Linked DNA regions of Homo sapiens: region 1 is linked to region 2. The links are contacts of gene promoters, found by promoter capture Hi-C in human tissues and cell types (Jung and others, 2019). All regions are on one chromosome and are shown on one strand. The core of a region is centred on a gene start or on the middle of the fragment in contact, and the rest is flanking DNA. Distances in the headings are between cores, read along the strand shown.

What was found. The method cuts DNA at HindIII sites, captures the fragments that hold promoters and counts their contacts. A contact is called where the count stands out against the background at its distance.
Region 1: a fragment that was not itself captured here is called in contact with the fragment with the promoter of EMB in region 2 in 2 of the 25 tissues and cell types used here (H1 embryonic stem cells and mesendoderm cells).

Annotation. Positions count from the first base shown.
Region 1 is chr5:50,366,981-50,370,510 of GRCh38, forward strand. No RefSeq gene overlaps it. Among named protein-coding and RNA genes, the nearest start is that of EMB, 73 kb to the right of the region's middle. The HindIII fragment of the contact is 4,770 bases long and covers 1-3,530 here.
Region 2 is chr5:50,439,846-50,443,033 of GRCh38, forward strand. It overlaps EMB (embigin), which reads right to left and starts at 1,443. Exons shown (of 9, transcript NM_198449.3): 1 at 1,195-1,443. The coding sequence starts at 1,306. RefSeq lists silencers at 987-1,176, 1,257-1,386. The HindIII fragment of the contact is 6,914 bases long and covers 420-3,188 here.

The DNA of each region.
Region 1 (3,530 bases), core at 730-3,229, 72 kb before region 2:
GGTCAGTGAATTCCCTTTCCTAGTCAAAGAAAGGGGTGACAGACAGCACCTGGAAAATCGGGTCACTCCCAACCTAACACTGCAGTTTTCCAATGGTCTTAGCAAACAGCACACCAGGAGATTATATCCCGCGCCTGGCTCAGAGGGTCCTATGCCCACGGAGCCTTGCTCATTGCTAGCACAGCAGTCTGAGATCGAACTGCAAGGTGGCAGCGAGGCTGGGGGAGGGGCACCCACCATTGCCAAGGCTTGAGTAGGTAAACAAAGTGGCCAGGAAACTCAAACTTGATGAAGCCCACCGCAGCTCAAGGAGGCCTGCCTGCCTCTGTAGACTCAACTTCTAGGGGCAGGGCACAGCCAAACAAAAGGCAGCAGAATCCTCTGCAGACTTAAATGTCCCTGTCTGACAGCCTTGAAAAGAGTAGTGGCTCTCCCAGCATGCAGCTGGAGATCTGAGAAAGGACAGACTGCCTCCTCAAGTGGGTCCCTGACCCCCAAGTAGTCTAACTGGGAGGCACCCCCCAGTAGGGGCAGAATGACACCTCACACACCCGGGTACTCCTCTGAGACAAAACTTCCAGAGGAATGATCAGGCAGCAACATTTGCGGTTCACCAATATCTGCTGTTCTGCAGCCTCCGCTGCTGATACCCGGGCAAACAAGTCTGGAGTGGACCTCCAGCAAACTCCAGCAGACCTGCAGCTGAGGGTCCTGACTGTTAGAAGGAAAACTGACAAACAGAAAGGACATCCACACCAAAACCCCATCTGTACATCACCATCATCAAAGACCAAAGGTAGATAAAACCACAGATATGGGGAAAAAACAGAGCAGAAAAACTGGAAACTCTAAAAATCAGAGCACCTCTCCTCCTCCAAAGGAATGCAGCTCCTCACAAGCAATGGAACAAAGCTGGATGGAGAATGATTTTGACAAGTTGAGAGAAGAAGGCTTCAGATGATCAAACTACCCCAAGCTAAAGGAGGAAGTTCGAACCCATGCCAAAGAACTTAAAAAGCTTGAAAAAAAAGTAAACAAATGGCTAACTAGAATAACCAATGCAGAGAGGTCCTTAAAGGACTGATGGAGCTGAAAACCAAGGCACAAGAACTACGTGATGAATGCACAAGCCTCAGTAGCTGATTCGATCAAGTGGAAGAAAGGGTATCAATGATGGAAGATGAAATGAATGAAATGAAGTGAGAAGTTTAGAGAACAAAGAATAAAAAGAAATGAACAAAGCCTCCAAGAAATATAGGACTATGTGAAAAGACCGAATCTACATCTGATTGGTGTACCTGAGAGTGATGGGGTGAATGGAACCAAGTTGGGAAGCACTCTGCAGGGTATTATCCAGGAGACCTTCCCCAATCTAGCAAGGCAGGCCAACATTCAAATTCAGGAAATACAGAGAATGCCACAAAGATACTCCTCGAGGAGAGCAACTCCAAGACACATAATTGTCAGAGTCACCAAAGTTGAAATGAAGGAAAAAATGTTAAGGGCAGCCAGAGAGAAAGGTTGGGTTACCCACAAAGGGAAGCCCATCACACTAACAGCGGATCTCTCGGCAGAAACTAGGCAAGCCAGAAGAGAGTGGGGGCCAATATTCAACATTCTTAAAGAAAAGAATTTTCAACCCAGAATTTCATATCCAGCCAAACTAAGCTTCATAAGGGAAGGAGAAATAAAATACTTCACAGAAAAGCAAATGCTGAGAGATTTTGTCACCACCAGGCCTGCCCTAAAAGAGTTCCTGAAGGAAGTACTAAACATGGAAAGGAAAAACCGAAACCAGTCACTGCAAAAACATGTCAAATTGTAAAGACTTTTGAGGCTAGGAAGAAACTGCGTCAACTAATGAGCAAAATAACCAGCTAACATCATAATGACAGGATCAAATTCACACATAACAATATTAACCTTAAATGTAAGTGGGCTAAATGTTCCAATTAAAAGACACAGACTGGTAAATTGGATAAAGAGTCAAGACCCACCAGTGTGCTGTATTCAGGAAACCCATCTCACATGCAGAGACACACATAGTCTCAAAATAAAGGATTGGAGGAAGATCTACCAAGTATATGGAGAACAAAAAAAGGCAGGGGTTGCAATCCCAGTCTCTGATAAAACAGACTTTAAACCAACAAAGATCAAAAGAGATAAAGAAGGCCCTTACATCATGGTAAAGGGATCAATTCAACAAGAAGAGCTAACTATCCTAAATATATATGCACCCAATATAGGAACACCCAGATTCATAAAGCAAGTCCTTATGAGAGATGACAGCATGCTGGCAGTCCTCACAGCCCTCACTCACTCTTGGCACCTCCTCTGCCTGGGCTCCCACTTTGGCAGCACTTGAGGAGCCCTTCAGCCCACCGCTGCACTGTGGGAACCCCTTTCTGGGCTGGCCAAGGCCGGAGCCGGCTCCCTCAGCTGGCAGGGAGGTGTAGAGGGAGAGGCGCGAGTGGGAACTGGGGCTGCACATGGTGCTTGCAGGCCAGCTGGAGTTCTGGGTGGGTGTGGGCTTGGTGGGCCCTGCACTTGGAGCAGCCGGCCAGCCCTGCCAGCCCCAGGCATTGAGGGGCTTAGCACCCGGGCCAGCGGCTGTAGAGGGGGTACTGGGTCCCCCAGCAGTGCCAGCCCACTGGCACTGTGCTCAATTTCTCGCCAGGCCTTAGCTGCCTTCCCACGGGGCAGGGCTTGGGACCTGCAGCCCACCATGCCTGAGCCTCCCACCCCCTCTGTGGGCTTCTGTGTGGCCCGAGCCTCCCCAAAGAGCGCCAACCCTGCTTCATGGTGCCCAGTCCCATTGACCACCCAAGGGCTGAGGAGTGTGGGTGCATGGTGTGGGACTGGCCGGCAGCTCCACCTGCAGCCCCGGTGTGGGATCCACAGGGTGAAGCCAGCTGGGCTCCTGAGTCTGGTGGGGACATGGAGAAACTTTATGTCTAGCTAAGTGATTGTAAATACACCAATCAGCACCGTGTGTCTAGCTCAGGGTTTGTGAAGGCACCAATCGACACTCTGTATCTAGCTACTCTGGTTGGGCCTTGGAGAACATTTATGTCTAGCTAAGGGATTGTAAATACACCAATCGGCACTCTGTATCTAGCTCAAGGTTTGTAAACACACGAATCAGCACCCTGTATCTAGCTCAGGGTTTGTGAATGCACCAATCGACACTCTGTACCTAGCTAATCTGGTGGGGACATGGAGAACCTTTGTGTCTAGCTCAGGGATTGTAAATGCACCAATCAGCACCCTGTCAAAACAGACCACTCAGCTCTACCAATCAGCAGGATGTGGGTGGGGCCAGATAAGAGAATAAAATGTGGCTGCCTGAGCCAGCAGTGGCAACCCACTTGGGTCCCCTTCCACACTGTAGAAGCTTTGTTCTTTCGCTCTTTGCAATAAACCTTGCTACTGCTCACTCTTTGGGTCCACACTGCTTTTATGAGCTGTAACACTCACCATGAAGGTCTGCAGCTTCACTCCTGAAGCCAGCAAGACCACGAGCCCACCAG
Region 2 (3,188 bases), core at 193-2,692:
TAATGTCCCAATTTTAGTTACTGGTGGCCAATATTTACCAGCTTGAGAGGTGGTCTTTTATTACCCTTACTGGCTGGTAACATTTATGACACAGAAACTTGCAATAGGTTGGATGGAATCCTTTCAATATGAAAAGTAATTATAAACAGGTGAAGGTAGAATGGCAACTTTCGTGTTGGCTTTGTTAATGTTTTGCACGTAATCCCTCTGTCAAAGTGTCTTAAACAATAAAACAACAAGCAAAAATCTCACACATACACACACACACATGCACACACACATTTTGTTTTCAAAGACCACGGTGTAAAATGAAGATACACACACGTTATCCTGTAAGTTGTGGATCTTTGGTTGGCTAGTTGGTTATGATGTTTTTTCCCCTACTCAGCTCTAAAAAAACATCCTCGGCAAGGTGAGGTGGCTCACGCCTGTAATCCCAGCACTTTGGGAGGCCGAAGCGGGCGGATCACCTCAGGTTGGGAGTTCGAGACCAGACTGACCAATGTGGAGAAGCCCAGTCTCTACTAAAAATATAAAATTAGCCCGGCGTGGTGGCGCATGCCTGTAATCCCAGCTACTCTGGAGGCTGACAGAGGAGAATCGCTTGAACCCGGGAGGAGGAGGTTGCGGTGAGCCGAGATCACGCCATTGCACTCCAGCCTGGGCAACAAGAGTAAAACTCCGTCTCAAAAAAAAAAAAAAAAAAAAAAAAAAAATCCTCAAAGCCAACCCACCTGCCAAGAGGAGGGAAGGAGGTGATACTCGAGCCTTACTCTCGAATCAAGAAAAGGGAGTAGGCCTTGGGGAAATGTGGCTTTCAAAATTCATGCCATATTTGCCCAAGCCAAGTCGCTAGCTGGTCCCTGCAACCACCCACACACCCCACTGCCTTCTTCCTAGGAAAAACCAGACTCTGCCCTGTTACCTACGCGCCCGACTCGCGGGGCGCTGTTCGTTCAAGACTCGCCCCAAAGAGCGCAGGAACGCGAGCCGCAGCAGTTTCAGGGTTCAGCTTAGGTGACACAAACGTAGCTAATGGGAGGCCGCCGCCGACTCTCCCACCCGCCCTTACCAGCATCCCCGCGCCTCTCCCCGCCACCCTTGCCCGGCGCGCCGGCGATGCCCTCTGCCCGCGGGGACCCGAGCCTCGCGCGCCCTCCGCCCTCCCTACCCTGGACCCTGTACCCATCACACCTGGGGCACTGCCGTCCGCCGAGCTTGGGCGCGCGGCAGCGAGAAGGCACTGGAGGAGGAGCAGCCGGGGCGTACGCGCCCTGGCCTCCAGCAGGCCGGGGAGGGCGCGCATGGCGCCAGAGGGTCCGCCTGGGTCCTCGTGGAGACTGCTCCCTCAGCTCGCCGCCGCGGGTGTCCAGAGTCCCTGCGCACACTCGCAGGTGGCCCGGCGCTCGCAGCCAGTGCCGCGGGTAGGACGCTGAAGAAAAGGCGGAATGGGAGGGGCCCGGCCGCCTTGCCCCACTCCCCCGAGACGCTCTTACCGCGCCCGGCCCTCCATCAGTTATGCAGCCCTCAGCCGGCTGCTGGCGTTCCCGGATGTGCGGTGGCGGTGCTACTTCCCGGCTGCAGCCTCTCCGGCCTCCGCCCTCTCGGCTCTAGCAGGTCGGGAGAGAGCTTGGGCAGGTGATGTCTAGCCAATCTCGTGGGGAGAGGTCGAAACTCTGCCTACAGACTGGCCTTTGCACTTCACCTGAGGCAGGTTTCACTAATTTGCTTTGATGGGACAGATGAGAAACACTTTTCTCCTCCCGGACCCCGGACATCTTTGGGCTTTCTTACGAGGGAGGCTTATTTTTGCGCAGGTGTAAGGTTTTATCCAGCTGCCAGACAACTTGTGTTAATCTTTCTTTGCTTTGCCTACCAATCACACACATTCTCTCTTCTAGTCTCTGAAGGCTTAACTGATTTTCTCCGGATGAAGGTTTTAGAGTCCCAAGGCCCCATACCGTGTCTGATTTTACTTTATTTTTGTTTGTTAAGCCTAACAGCTTCTGAGGAGCCACCTAGAGCTCAAGAAGCAAAAGCTACTGAGAGTAGATACTATGTAAACTGCACAAGACATTGACCTTTGTTAAATCCGAACACTCTTTAAGATAATGCTCTTACCCACAAGGCTGTAGCTTGGAATATTCAGTGCTCTGAACCAAATTAAATAAATTAGTGCTTTATCCGGGAGGGGAGGAGAAATCTATATTGTAACATTGAAACACATTGATTTGATTTCTCTCCAGGATGTTATAACGCATTAAAAGATATTTTTAAAATTTTTCACGAGCTTTGTTTCCTCTCCCTTTATTTTTTTGAAGTTCAGCTTTCACATTCGTAAATTCAAAATATATCGGCGTTAAAAAAAAAAGGATTGGAAATAACATGAGACAAATTTTGAAAATTGAGCTATTTAACAAAACCTGTGTTTATTCCAGGCAGGAATGGTTAATTTGTAATTGGTACGTATTACTAAAACACGTCTGTTTCTGGTTTAGTATTATATGCACAAAACTTTGGAAACAGAATGTAGATTCTTCAAATTGGCAGTGAGATAATATGAATAATACAATTCATTCAACAATATTATCTACCAGGTGCCAATCTACCATTGTGTTCAAAAGAGGCTAGATAGGCACACATGCACAAATGCACGCATGCACACATGTACACACACACACACACAAATTAGACAACTGTTTATCTGTGAATGACAAATCTCAGAAAAGCCTCTTCTCAGAAAATTATGGTCAAAATTATTAAAATCTTCTGAATGAAACTTTAAAAGATGCCTTCAAGGACTAAATCTTATACACTGTTGACCCTCTGAGGGCATTGACTGGGCTTGCTAAACCCAAATTGCCTAATCAATGGCTGCTACATCACACCTCTTTCTTTCAACCCTGCATCTGGTCTCAGGACTAACTGCACACATTTCCCTATAATTAGGTAGAGTGTCAACAGTAAGCACTTCTCACCTCAAACTAAACTCTGACTGACTTTTCCCAGTTAGTCTCATAAAATCCTTAGACACAAATTCACCCTTCTTAAAGAAACATTTTTTTCAGTTGAATCAGCCTATTTATGACCAGAAAAACTTACTTACCCAAGTTGATGCTGATCCCCACTGTTGCTTTTGCTGTTGGAACAAAAGAGTTGAGAAAGAAATATAATTCTCATTTTGCTAA